Linked DNA regions of Homo sapiens: all the other regions are linked to region 2. The links are contacts of gene promoters, found by promoter capture Hi-C in blood cells and fetal thymus (Javierre and others, 2016). All regions are on one chromosome and are shown on one strand. The core of a region is centred on a gene start or on the middle of the fragment in contact, and the rest is flanking DNA. Distances in the headings are between cores, read along the strand shown. Region 1 overlaps RUFY3 (RUN and FYVE domain containing 3). Region 2 holds the start of MOB1B (MOB kinase activator 1B). Region 3 overlaps GRSF1 (G-rich RNA sequence binding factor 1).

What was found. The method cuts DNA at HindIII sites, captures the fragments that hold promoters and counts their contacts. A CHiCAGO score of 5 or more calls a contact.
Region 1: a contact is called between a fragment that was not itself captured here and the fragment with the promoter of MOB1B in region 2, in 1 of 17 cell types (M0 macrophages). The highest score is 8.0, in M0 macrophages.
Region 3: a fragment that was not itself captured here is called in contact with the fragment with the promoter of MOB1B in region 2 in 3 of 17 cell types (M0 macrophages, M1 macrophages and total B cells); the score reaches 7.7 in M0 macrophages.

The regions. Positions count from the first base shown.
Region 1 is chr4:70,791,493-70,796,115 of GRCh38, forward strand. RUFY3 (RUN and FYVE domain containing 3) reads left to right here. Exons shown (of 18, transcript NM_001037442.4): 13 at 2,293-2,412; 14 at 3,303-3,402. Among named protein-coding and RNA genes, the nearest start is that of GRSF1, 46 kb to the right of the region's middle. The HindIII fragment of the contact is 421 bases long and covers 3,139-3,559 here.
Region 2 is chr4:70,900,182-70,904,648 of GRCh38, forward strand. MOB1B (MOB kinase activator 1B) reads left to right here and starts at 2,188. Exons shown (of 6, transcript NM_173468.4): 1 at 2,188-2,369. The coding sequence starts at 2,356. It overlaps LOC124900711 (a long non-coding RNA gene), which reads right to left and starts at 2,050. Exons shown (of 2, transcript XR_007058132.1): 1 at 1,768-2,050. RefSeq lists silencers at 2,008-2,157, 2,468-2,517. The HindIII fragment of the contact is 2,463 bases long and covers 1,689-4,151 here.
Region 3 is chr4:70,813,814-70,818,695 of GRCh38, forward strand. GRSF1 (G-rich RNA sequence binding factor 1) reads right to left here. Exons shown (of 10, transcript NM_002092.4): 10 at 1,970-4,882. Among named protein-coding and RNA genes, the nearest start is that of GRSF1, 24 kb to the right of the region's middle. The HindIII fragment of the contact is 410 bases long and covers 1,705-2,114 here.

The DNA.
Region 1 (4,623 bases), core at 2,099-4,598, 110 kb before region 2:
TTAGAAAAATTGGTATAAGTTCCTAATTAAAAGCTGAATAAACTTTGAGAAATTATTTCTGAGTTGACCAATAAATAAAAATACCACTTTCTTTAAAAAAGCCTAGGGAATTGAAGCTCTGTACATATACTAATGATGCCTTTACAACCCAGTCCTTGATAATACCAGATTCTCGGTGCATTGTTCATGTCTGTATCTGCAAGCCTGTTCTGCCATTGCAGTGTGATGAACCTAGAGGTAACTACCATGTGAACTTGAACTCTTCTAAAATAGTTCTGTGTCTCTTAGACCATGACCCCTTTTCACTTTTGTTATATAGGTTTAATCCCCAAGCCAAGGATAGTACTTAGTATTTCACTACACTTCTATTCTCAGTAACCAAGATTGCTTGCAACTTTTTTTGCCTTGGTGACTTTTGAAAAAAAAAGAAAAGAAAAAGCAGCATCCTTATATTTCTTTAAAATACATAGAAATAAAGTTAGTAATTAGGTAACCTATGATAACATAATAATGTGGACGCCTGGGGAAACCCTCCTCATGTTTGTCATCTTCTACCTCTGCCGTTTTCCTGCAATTCCGCTTCCTACTTAGGCAGTTCAGAGAGAACAATTCTAATAAAAACACTCCTCTCCTATTAACAAAAAATGATGCAGTACCCATTTTTCGTATCCTGCTTTTCTTATATTGGAGTAAAAAGGACAGGGTATAGACATGAATGATGATATTCTGCCTGGCCTGTCATTTCTTACCTGGAAACATTTACTTAAGAGTTTCTGTTACTTTTTGTTCAGATGGGGATTTGCTAAAGGTTCTGGGAAGCTAATAATTGAATTATTAGAAAAACATTTCAGAATAGGAAGTAAATGATAAACTTATATTCTTTATTATTATTTAGTACAAAAATAGATTCCCAGTAGATATCCACAAGCAATATTAGCAGGGCTTCTGTTTCTAAGTGACCACAGACTAACCCTTTCTAGGCTTTAACATTGTAAATAATCCTATAAACAGTTTGATTTTTTAAGATGATTTTTGATTTGAAGAGACAGGCTTTACATAAGCCTTCATTCCTTCAAAAGGTCCTGACAAAATACTTGGGTTTTTTTCTCTTTTTTTCATTCTGGTATGCTTTGCAGCATTTCAGCTGCTTTGGTGGGGACACAGATAACCCCTTCGCTTCCAGCTCTTAAAATTCTTTATCTTTTTCTTGGCAAAACCAGAATTAAGAGTGTAAGATAGATTCCATGTGTGCTTATATAGGTCCCTGCACAGATTGGACTTGAACCAAAATTAAGTCCAAAGAACATATGTTTAGACCAACTTCATGGAAGTGGAAGATCCTGTGCTCTTGAACTTATTTTAATTCTTATAATTTGCACCTATATAAACAAAGCTCCTACTGTATTCTTCTCTTCATCAACCTTTTGTGGTGATGGGTTGCCTTTTCTACGAGCATTTGGAAGGAGTGATCAAATACCGAAATTGAACTTTCTAAAACCTACACATAGCATGCGTTTAAATTCTATTATATAAAGCCCCAAGTGCTTTACCTTCTAAAACATGCTTCTCTATAGGTGCAAAGTTATAAGATATGTAGAAGAAAACATCCATCAGAATCTTCTGGAGAATATGGTCAGAGTCTTAAACAGGCCCAGTGCTGAGTTCTTTGTCCACTTAGTCACACATCTTTTGTGGGAATGGGAAAGGAAGGAGACAGCCAAACTCTGACAAAGGCTTTTCCTTATAGAATAACCCAAAGCCTAGGTGAGGGTTGATATATAATGTCCCATGATTTAATATATGTGGTTTGGGGGAAAGGACAAGAAAAAACTATAATTCCACATATAAGAAGGTAGTTGCCCATTTACAAGTTCCAGTTATGTGTGTAAAACAGAAAAATTAAGTACCAAACCTATTAGGAAATTTTTTTAAAAAGTGGATTTAACTTAAATTACTGTGTACTTGAGGTTGGCTTTGGATATGGATTTTCTAAAAAGTGATGTTTTATTGTTTATCATCTAATGGCTGTAAACTGTAGTACTAGAATAAAAAAAATGGAAAATCAGCTTTTCCTCTGCCTGGTTCACCTTCATCTTACTTTTCTTTAGAATTTGTTTCTTCTCCATCTTTTCCCCCCCATAATTTCTTCACCTGTGTCCTGCAAAGTTTTTTTCCTCTCTCTGTCTCTCTGTGCATTCTTCCTTGGGTTATTTTATTTTGTGTTGTGAACTTGGTCTTCTTCCCCACCATGGCTTTTGTTTTTTATCACAAGTTCATGTGGCTCACATCCAGATTGCGCCAGGCTGAGCGAAGCCGCCAATCTGCTGAGTTGGACAACCGGCTCTTCAAACAGGACTTTGGAGACAAGATCAACAGTCTGCAGCTGGAAGTCGAGGAGCTCACCAGGCAGCGGTGAAGAGGGGGTAGCTTGAGCTGACAGGGTGGTCATGGGTAATTCTTAGGGTAGACAGCAAGAAAAGGGGTCTCATGACTTCCAGCCAGGTTGGCTCTGTCTTTGCAATGTCCTTTCTCTGGAATTGGAATTCAGAAAGCTTCACGTACTTCAACATTCCCCAAATCCGATCAACATGCTTTGTGATCAAAGAATTAGGAAATTAGAGCCCAAGATCCCAGATAAATAGTAATTATTAGCCAAAATAACACTAATAATAATATGTAATATTTCCTGAATTCTTACTGTGTGCCAGATACTTTAGGCACTTCACATGCAAACTCTCCTAATATCTTCATATCAACCCTATTAGTGATATTATTGCCTCCACTTTCAGATTAAAGTAGAGCTTAAGGCTGGGCGCAGTGGTTCATGCCTGTAATCCCAGCACTTTGGGAGGCCAAGGCAGGTGTATCACCTGAGGTCAGGAGTTCCAGACCAGCCTGGCCAAGATGGTGAAACCCCATCTCTACTAAAAATACAAAAATTTGCCAGACATAGTGGTGGGTGCCAGTAATCCCAGCTACTCGGGAGGCTGAGGCAGGAGAATTGCTTGAACCTAGGAAATGGAGGTTACGGTGACCTGAGATCATGCCACTGCACTCCAGCCTGGCAACAGAACAAGACTCCATCTCAAAAAAAGGTAGAGATTAGACAGGTTAAATGTGTCCAGATTCACACAGTTAAGCTTAGAAGTAGCAACATTATCATTTAAAAACCTGTCTCTCTGACAGCAAGCCCTTAACCATTCGTAATTACTGCACTTTAAGACAAGGGGTTGGCATTCTTTAGAGAATATGTCTGTATAGAATTCCAATTTTTCATCCTTTTCCTCTCCAACTTACCTCAGGAACCAGCTTGAGTTAGAACTAAAACAGGAAAAAGAAAGAAGATTACAAAACGACAGGAGCATCCCAGGAAGGGGTTCCCAGAAGTCAGAATCCAAGATGGTAATATTTGCTATTCCCTTGTTCTTTTACTTAATTTCAGTTTAAATTTTAGAGGCTACCTTGATAGTCCTGTCAGTTTTCCTTTACAGATCACATACTTAGTGGCTGTGTCCTCAAGTATGTAGATAGCAAACTAGTAATTATGTGAACAAATGAAAGCTTGATTCTGAGTCTGCCTCTAGGATACTTTCTCCAACTTGATTTCATTTGGAAAGGGGGATTTTAATAATCACAGTGACCCTATTTCCCTTTTAATAATTTTTTAAGTAAGATTATTTTGGTGTCTTAACAAAAATATATGTTTCTTGGATTTCTGCTAAATAATAATTTTAATAAAATAGTATAATAATCCCTCTCCAACCCTGAATTCCCCTTTAACAGAATTTTCCTCAATGTGGATTTGCTTCTGTATACCTTTTTCAAATCATGAGGATTTCATTTTGAGTATCCTTAAGGAACTTCTCGTGGGAATAATTAGGGAATTAGGCTTGAGGAAAGGAAGGTAATACAGAATAAAGAGCAAAAGTAGAAATTTCTACATAATAATCTTAGAAGGAGACCCCTCCAGCACCTCCAGTGATGAAGGAGCTACAATTGGGTAAGATCATCTCTGGGGCCCAGGAAATAATGAAATCAGAAAAACATAAAATAACTTTTTCTGTAAAAGACAGTGAAAAAATTGCCTTCTGTGTGTACATATTATACAAGGCGACTTCAAAAAGATCATGGGAAATGGAATTAAAAGGTAAAGATATATAAACTTTATTTCTCAACCTAAGTTCCATCAAGTTCAAGAGACTTTAGTAAGTGATGATACTAGTCATGTAGGCCATCCCTGAAGAACTGAGGGTCCTAGGAATTTAATCATATCAATACAATCTTTTTTACATTATTAACTGAAGAAAAATTGGTGCACTTTAATGATGTTTTAAGATTAGGAAACAAAAAGAAATCAGAGGCACCAAATCAGGACTGTAAAGTGGATGCCTAATGATTTCCCATCATAACTCTCACAGAATTGCCATTGTCTGATGAGAGGAATGAGTTAGGAGCATATTTCTGGTGGAATAGCACTCTCTGTTGAAGCTTTCCTGGGCATTTTTGTGCTAAAACTTTGGCTAACTTTCTCAAAACATTCATCACAAGTATTAGCCAGGTGTGGTGGCACATGCCTCTAGTCTCTAGTCCCAGCTACTTGGGAGGCTGAGGCATGAGAATCAC
Region 2 (4,467 bases), core at 938-3,437:
TTATTCAGTGTCACAGGATACATCTAAATTATGTCAGACCAAAACTAAGGCTACCTAAGCCAAATCAGGGAGCAGTTTGGAAATGTGTGCCAGTCATTTGAAGGATGCCCCTGGCAGGAGAGAACTTTAGAACTGGAAGATATTTTAGAGATCATGTAATGATAGAAGGCTCCCATTTTAAATGGGCTAAAACTGAGGCTATGACAGGTCAACTCACTCTTTCCAAAGATAATCAGTAATCTGGTAATGCAAGTCTTACTTTCAGAAGACCCTTACAAGAATCATACAGGGCTGGGCGTGGTGGCTCACGCCTGTAATTCCAGCATATTGGGAGGCCAAGGCAGGCAGATCACGAGGTCAGGAGTTTGAGACCAGCCTGGCCAACATAGTAAAACCCCGTCTCTACTAAAAATTCAAAAATTAGCCAGGTGTGGTGGCACAGGCCTGTAATCCCAGCTACTTAGGAGGCTGAGGCAGAATTGTTTGAACCCAGGAGGCAGAAGTTGCAGTGAGCCTAGTCCAGAAGTTGCACCACTGGACTCCAGCCTGGGTGACAGAGTGAGACTCCGTCTCAAAAAAAAAAAAAAAAAAAAGAATTATACAGTAAGTCAGTACCATATCAATATTTGGAGCACAGGGTTTTATACCATAAATCTATTATTTTCATTCAGATAAATCCTCCTCTTTCTTCTTTTTGGGGAATCTTTTAAAAAATTTTTAATTTAATTTGAAGTTCCAGGATACATGTGCAGGACGTGCAGGTTTGTTACATAGGTAAACGTGTGTGCCATGGTGGTGTGCTGAACCTATCAACTTATCACCTAGGTATTAAGCTCTGCATGCATTAGCTATTTATCCTGATCTGGTAATCTTTTGAGTCTGTAAGTTTTCTCATTCCAGTAACCTCTGCTGTTCCTGAGATAGTGCAAGATTCTAGTATTTTCTTCTATTAAAAAATTTTTTTTTTGAGACGGAGTCTAACTCTGTCACCCAGGCTGGAGTGTAGTGGCATGATCTTGGCTCACTGCAACCTCTGCTTCCTGGGTTGGAGCAATTCTCCTGCCTCAGCCTCCCGAGTAGCTGGGATTACAAGTGTGTGCCACCATGCCCGGCTAATTTTTGTATTTTTAGTAGAGACGGGGTTTGGCCATGGTCTTGAACTTTGGCTGGTCTTGAACTCCTGACCTCAGGTGATCCACCCACCTCGGCCTCCCAGAGTGCTGGGATTACAGGCATGAGCCACTGCGCCCGGCCTAAAACGTTTTTTTTTTTTTTTTTTTTTTTTTTTTTTTTTTTTTTTACCACTTTACCAACGTGCCAAATAATAGTGCATATATGCAGTATAATACATTTCATATCTGCACCTACTTCAAAGTGTATTCTGCCCTTTGGGATAAGCCAAAGGTGAGCTAATATCTGCACATGATTTGTTTTGCTCAGATTCTCTTTGAAAACTTGTAGATTTGATGGGTGTTGTGAGTAAAGAAGACGGACATCTCTTCGATACCCGTATTTCCCTCCTAAATTGGTAATGCTGTGGTGACATATTCAAGGTATGTGAAGGATTCTTAAACAGAATATAAAGGCTTGCCCTGGGCCCCATAACCCTGTGAGAATAAAAGTCCCTTTGTAAGTGGGTCTGAATAGCTTCTAGCTTCTAGGATGTTCTGTGCATTAGAATGCTTACAAGCTTTGGCCCCCTAAGTGGTTACACCGATGACCACCCTATCATGCTGGGTTCCGTGGTGAACTGAGAGATGCCATTACCTTTCACCGCCCTTGGCCGGACACTCACGGTGGGCCTAACTCCGGTGGTAATTCCATCCCTCACTGCGGGACCTTGACATCCCCGAGCTGAAGCCCACTTCCTCCCTGACCTCTGGAGCCCAGCTGAGCGGCTCCGAGAGCTCTGCCATGACTCCTAACCGGGTGGACAGGGGGGCCGGGCAGCCGCGGCGCACACGCTGGGCGTCGTCCCTAGCAGCAGAGGAGACCAGAAGGTGAGAGTCCCCATGCCGCAGCCGGAGGGCCGGGGTGGGCTTGCACCGCTATCGCGAGAGCTCGTGAGGTGGGGGCGGCGGGGAGCTGGGGAGGGGCTCGCGGAGAGCCTGCCCCGCCTCCCTTTCCTTCCCCTCCCCTGGAGTGATTCAAGACGAGCGCTACCCACTTCCGCCCCCTCCCCCTGCCATTGGAACTAGCTGAGCCGAACTAGTTGCGGCCACCGAGCAGCCGGCTCTCGGCACCTCCTCCTCCGCCTCCCTGTCTCCTGTTCCATTCGCCTTTCCTCTTCTTTCCTGGCCCACGCCGCTCCGAGGCCTCGCGACCGCCGAGCCTGCAGCCTGCCCCGCGGCCAACATGAGCTTCTTGTTGTGAGTAGCCAGGCCCCGCACGCGCCGGCTTTGTTCGGGTGGACCTGGGCCCCCGCCCGCCGCCCGCCGCCCGTCGCCCGCCCTCGTCCCGACCCTCCTGGCCCAGCGCTCCCGGGGCCCGGCGTCACCACCAAGCGGGGCCCCGGGACTGCGCGGAGCGCTCGGACTACCTAACCGCCGCCTCCCCATAGGGCTTCGAGTACTCGTGGGCTCCTGCAGCCCTGAGGAGGTTCTTCCCCCCCGGCACACCCCGGGGCCAGCGCCTGGATTCCTTCATCACCCCCGTCTCTGCCTTCGCTCGCATTCCCGGGCTTGTTTGTGCGCTTCTCGTGGGTATCTCCCACTCGCCTGCACAATCCGTATCCAAGCGGTGCTCGGTTGAATGGCTCCGTCGCGGCTGCCCATTGCTCTTTTCTGGGTCCCAAGCACAGAAGATAAGACTGTCGTACTTTCCCCTGTCATCCCAGGACCCTTTTAACTTCCTCTCTCGTCTTAGGGCTGGGAAGTTGGGATGACAAGTTCTGTAGATGTAACACTGAAACAAGGCTACTTGCGGGTCGGGATCCCTTGGACACAGACGGGGGTCCCTGAGAAAGGGGTCTGGAGCCGCCCCCTTGCTTCCTAGAGGCGCCCTTCCTCCCAGAGGACTTCCCTGAAGAGGATGAGTTTTATCTTTTTAGACAACCAGCAAATAGGTTTTGGATAGTGTGCCCTGCCTAGGTTGATTAGGTCCACTGGGGAGTTGTTTTGAAAATCATTTGTAAATGCCAACTTTGGCGTCATGTTTAGTGCTGGTCATTATTTCACTTACTTATCGTTTGTTCCAGACGAGTGGAGGGGAACGTGGAGGGGGAAGGGCAGAAGGATGGGATGGCCAGATGTGGATATGGAGGCAGTAGATAAGCCTCAGGTCCTCTGAAAACAGGGGTTACAGCCTGAGGAATAACTCCTTTGAAGGCTTCGTTGTGATGCACTCATTCCATGTTTAGTCTGTGTTTAGAAAACTAATAAAAAACTTAGAAGTTGAAACTCACCCATATACTGTTTTACTGTTGTGGAGAAATTAGCATTTAAAGGATATTTTCTTAAGATTTCTCTTCTTTCCTTGCCTAATAATTTTTAGTCATTACATTGACGTCTGAATACTGAGAATTTAATTCACTCTTATTTTCACATGCTCACATCTAGAATTTTTTTTTTTAGGGTGTTTAAGCAAAACTGAACAAGGCTGACCTAGGGGCAGACTTGATATTTCCAATATGCATAGGGGACCTGGCTTGTGTCAACTTGCCTAAAACCTTTAAACGGAAAGGGATTTCTTAGGCTCCTCCTAGAAGTTGATTCTGAGTTTGTCGGATTGGCATAGGGCTAGATGACAGGACTGGGTGATTTTATAAAAAAGTCCTTGTTTCTTATTTTAGTTCTTTTTTTTTTTTTTTTTTTTTTTTGAGACGGAGTCTCCGCTCTGTCACCAGGCTGGAGTGTGTAGTGGCGTGATCTCGGCTCACTGCAACCTCTGCCTCCCGGGTTCAAGCGATTCTCCTGCCTCAGCCTCCTGAGTAGCTGGGACTACAGGCCCGCGCCACCACGCCTGGCTAATTTTTGTATTTTTAATAGAGATGGGGGTTTCACCATGTTGGCCAGGCTGGTCTCGAACTCCTGATTTCAAGTGATCTGCCTGCCTTGATCTCCCAAAGTGCTGGGATTACAGACGTGAGCCCACCGTGCCTGGGCAGTTTCTTGTTTTAGTTCTAATCACCATATTCAGGTATCTCAACTTGAAGCTTCTCATCTTGAGCTTAATTTTACATTGCTAATGTTTGATTGTTTTCAAGAATTTAGAAGCTGTATTCAAAATAGCACTGTAGATGATATCCATGACTACTGCTGATGGGCTTGTGTCTAGTAAGCTAAATTGGTTAAAGCAAGGCCAGTCGCGGTGGCTCATGCCTGTAATCCCAGCACTTTGGGAGGCCAAGACAGGCAGATCACCAGGTCAGGAGTTCGAGATCAGCCTGGCCAATATGGTGAAACCCCGTCTCTACTAAAAATACAAAAATTAGCTGGGCAAGGTGGCACGCACCTGTAGTCCCAGCTA
Region 3 (4,882 bases), core at 660-3,159, 87 kb before region 2:
ACCCAGGAGGCAGAGGTTGCAGTGAGCCAAGATTGCGCTATTGCACTCCGACCTGGGCGACAGAGTGAGACCCTATATTTAAAAAAAAAAAAAATCCAGCAAGCGGTTGTAAGCATCACTGAGGATATCAGATCCCTAAGACTTAATTAAGCATGGAAAAGAAGAGGTAACTCAGGCTTCCAAAGGGCAAGGGCAAGTACAGTGAAAAAGCTGTACAAGTCTCCAGAAAGCAGTAATGACTTAGCATTCTGGATGCTGCTTTATGGCACAAAAGTATCATTCATGGAGTGAGCTGGTGGAAGGTAAAGTTAAGAAAAAATAAAGTATCATTCATATTCAATTACAACATCTATCACAAATACTATGTTCTTCTAGCATAACATTGCTCGTATTCCGCAATTTATTTTTGTCTTGCTGTTACCCAGGCTGGAGTGCAGTGGTGTAACCTGTGTGATCTCAGCTTCCACTTCCCAGGCTCCAGTGATACTCCCACCTCAGCCTCCTGAGTAGCTGGAACTACAGGCGTGAGCCACCATGGCTAGCTAGTTTTTGTATTTTTGGTAGAGATGGGTTTCACCATGTTGCCCAGGCTGGTCTCAAACTTCTAAGCTCAGGTGATCCACCTGCCCCGGCCTCCCAAAGTGCTAGAATTACAGGTGTGAGCCACCATGCTCAGCCCCATCTTGCTTTCTTGAGGAGGCAAGAAATGAATGAATCAACAGCCAGCCCATCAGAAACTGTTAATAACTTGTCTCCCTAGCTCTTGGTCTTTATTCCCAAATGTCTGCCATCTTCTGTCAAGCAGCAGCAGCAAAGGTTCAGAACCTCTTTATTTCCATCATAACCAGGTATTTTTGTTTGTTTTTGTTTTTGAGACGGAGTCTCACTCTGTTGCCCAGGATGGAGTGCAGTGGCGTGATCCCGGCTCACTGCAACCTCTGCCTCCCTGGTTCAAGCAATTCTCCTCAGCCTCCCAAGTAGCTGGGATTATAGGCATGCACTATCACACCCGGCTAACTTTTATATTTTTAGTACAGACAGGGTTTCACCATGTTGGCCAGGCTAGTCTCGAACTCCTGGCCTCAGGTGATTCGCCCACCTCGGCCTCCCAAAGTGCTGGGATTACAGGAATGAGCCACCAAGCCAGGCCATAACCAGGTATGTTTTCAAATCACAAGTCTTTGAATAAACTTGTTAAATTTTGCCTGTGGGCTTCAAATTAAGATTCTTAAACATATCTTGGTGATCCTTGTGACCTTCAATGAATCCATCCATATTCTAGAGTCTACTTTGGTTATACACCTTCATGCTTTATCCCCAAGTGCTTTCAGAACCATTTCACTAAGATGTTCTAATGCTGACATAAAACCTTGAAACTATAAAAGGGGAGATTTAAGAATTCAGCGATGTAAAAATAGTTTCTGCCATCATGAGCAAACAAAGAGGACAAACTGGGGGGAAAAGGTATTTAAAGCTCACTATAGGAACAAAGTACTCCTGCAGATTAGTTAAAAGACCAAAGCCAATAGAAAAGCGGTTAATAAACATCACACAAAGGCAATCAGCCAAACTCAGATTATGGAAACCTACAGGTTAATCTTATTTCTTCAGCAAATAAGAAAAAAATAAATGGATGGCAAAACATCCTGAATAAGAGAAGAAACAGACACTTCAACTTTACTAAAGATATCCAAATGGCTAGTAAGCTTATGAAAAAGTACTATTCATTGTCAGGGAATGCAAATTAAAACCAGAAGATACCACTACACAATGGCTAAAATTATAGACTGACAACAGCAAATGGTAAGGATATGGACCTACTAGAACTCTGGGAATGTAAACCAGGATAACCATTTAGGAAAAGGTTTGTCGTCTTCTAGTAAAATTTAAAATACATCAACTCAGGATAATCTCACTCCTAAATACTTATCCAAATTAAATTAAATTAAAATGTAGGTTCACAAAAAGGTTGTACATGTTCATACCAACTTTATTCATGATAGCCCCAAACTAGAAACAGCCCATTGTTCACCAGTTAGTTGTTCACCTAACAGGTGAAACGTTAAAATGTGGCATTCATACATAGAACACTGCTCAGCCATAAAAAGGAACAAAGCTTAAACACACTGATGAACATACAAACATGCTGAGTAAAAGGAACTTACAGAATACATACTGCATAAGTGAGTCCGTTATATGAAGTTCTAGAATAGGCAAAATTAATCTACAGTGAACAAAATCCTAACAGTAGCTGACTGCCAGGGGAGGGAAGAAGGGACAGGAGAGAGAGGTGCAGGAATTGACTAGGTGAAAAAATTCAGATGTAATACAGATGTTCCAGACATAGGGGTTTGAGTTACATGCTTTTACATCAAAACTCATCAAATGAGTCTGGGTATGGTGGCTCACACCTGTAATCCCAGCTACTCGGGAGGCTGAGGCAGGAGACTCCCTTGAACCCAGGAGGTGGAGGTTGCAGTGAGCCAAGACCAGGCCACTGCACTCTAGCCTGGGCGATACAAGACTCCATCTCAAAAAAAAAAAAAAAAAAAGAAAAAACCTCATCAAATGATACACTTAACATTTATTCACCTTACTGCAAATCTCCCTCAAAAAAACTCCAATGACGGCTGGGTGTGGTGGCTGATGCCTGTAATCCCAGCACTTTGGGAGGCCGAGGCAGGCAAATGACTGGAGGCCAGGAGTTCCAGACCAGCCTGGCCAACATGATGAAACCCCATCTCTACTAAAAATACAAAAATTAGTCAGGCGTGGTGGTGCACATCTGTAATCCCAGCTACTCGGGAATCTGAGGCATGAGAATTGCTTGAAACTGGGAGGTGGAGGCTGTAATGAGCTGGGATCACGTCACTATAACTCCAGCCTGGGTGACAGAGCGACTGTCTCAAACACAAAAAACAAAAACAAAAACAAATTCCCATGACATGTATGCTGAAAGGATTAAAAGTGAAAAATGTCTACAACTTACTTGGACATGCATATAGAAAAAAAGATGAGACTGCAGGAGGCAGGCTATGGGATAAAGCATGGCAAAATGCTGCTTGTACAATCTAAGGGATGGGTATTGGCATCACCAAGATTTTATATACTGACAGAAAATGATCTTTAGGGTGTTTAGGTGGGAGAAAAGCCAAAATACAAAATAGCATGTACAGTATAATTTATATTTTTAAAAGAAATGACAACACCCACTAACACTTGCTTATAAATAAAGTAAAAGTCACTGCAAGCTTACACTAGAAACTGATAACAGGGCTGTGCGAGAATAGAAACTAAACAGCTGAATTACAGGAGGGGAAGGAGAATCTTCACTACCGTTTGTATCTCTTCAAGTTTATTTCCTTCAAAAAATAAAATATAAACAACTTTAAAATGAGCCTGCTTTTTTTTTTTCTGAGACAGGGTCTCACTCTGTCACTCAGGCTGGAGTGCAGCAACAGTCATGGCTCACTGCAGGCTTGACTTCCCAGGCTCAAGCAGTCCTCCCACTTCAGCCTCACAAAGTGCGGGGATTACAGATGTCAGCCACCACACCTAGCCTATTCTTGATTTTCATATAATCAGGCTTAAGACAGATTAAACCTTCCTTCCTATACTTCCTTTCTAAAAATAAGAAAACCACTAGAACTAAAATTCTGGACAGAAAATCCAGACACCTCACCAATGATGATATAAGGATGGCAGATTAAGTATATGAAAAGGTGCTCCACATCACTATGGGATTGGGAATTAAAACGATGAGACCACTATTCACCCATTAGCTAAAATGCAAGAGTGACATCACCAAATACTAATGAGGGTGAGGAGCTACAGGAACTCTTATTCATTGTCAATGGGAATTCAAAATAGTCATGTTGGAACAGTTTGGCAGTTTCTTCCAAAACTAAACATACTCTTAACTTACAATCCAGCAACCTGGTTCCTTGGTATTTACCCAAAGGAGCTGAAAACGAGTCTACACAAAAACCTGCACATAAATGTTTATAGCAGCTTTATTCCCTTCCTACAAACTTCAGATTCTCTTCTAATTTGCTGAACTTGGGGAGTGGGAGGGTAATGTATTTCTAATGCGATAGCGCAATTTGGATTGGAACTCTACTGCTGACATACATACCATTCTCCTCTATACTATAGGTCCTACCAATTCAATGTGAGTGTCTTCCGATAATTTAGGGGAAACTCTCAGAACAATGGAGTTTTTTGTATTTTGGTTTTTTTGATTTTGACAGAGTCTCACTCTGTTGCCCAGGCTGGAGTGCAATGGTGTGATCTTGGCTCGCTACAACCTCTGCCTCCCAGGTTCAAGCGATTCTCCTGCCTTGGCCTCCCAAGTAACTGGGATTACAGGCGTGTGCCACACCTGGCTAATTTTTGCATTTTCAGTAGAGCCGGAGTTTCACTAAGTTGGCCAGGCTAATCTTGAACTCCTGACCTCAAGTGACCCACCATGGAGGGTTTTAAATTCTGAAACAAACAGGATGTAACCCCAAAAAATAACTTTCCAAATGAGAACTGAGTAAGGGCTGTTCAGGGCAGAGGACATTAACAAGGCATGTTGATTAATAAGCAGATTCATGGCACACAATGTTGCCTTCAAACTGGGTTCCTTATGCTTCCCCCTTCAAGTAACACAGAAGTAGTGAGAATTTGGAGCCTTCCTCCCAGGGAAGATTCGGTCCCCCTTCCCACATGACAGAAGCTTAAGTTACCCACGCATAAAGGGACACATACTCTATTTCTGCTTCATTGCCTGGTGTCAATATTTAGATGAGACCACAATATTCAGATGAGACCACAATATTCAGCAATCAGCTCCCTGGTATTTACATACTGCTTCTCAGAGTTCTCCCTTGCACTCCGT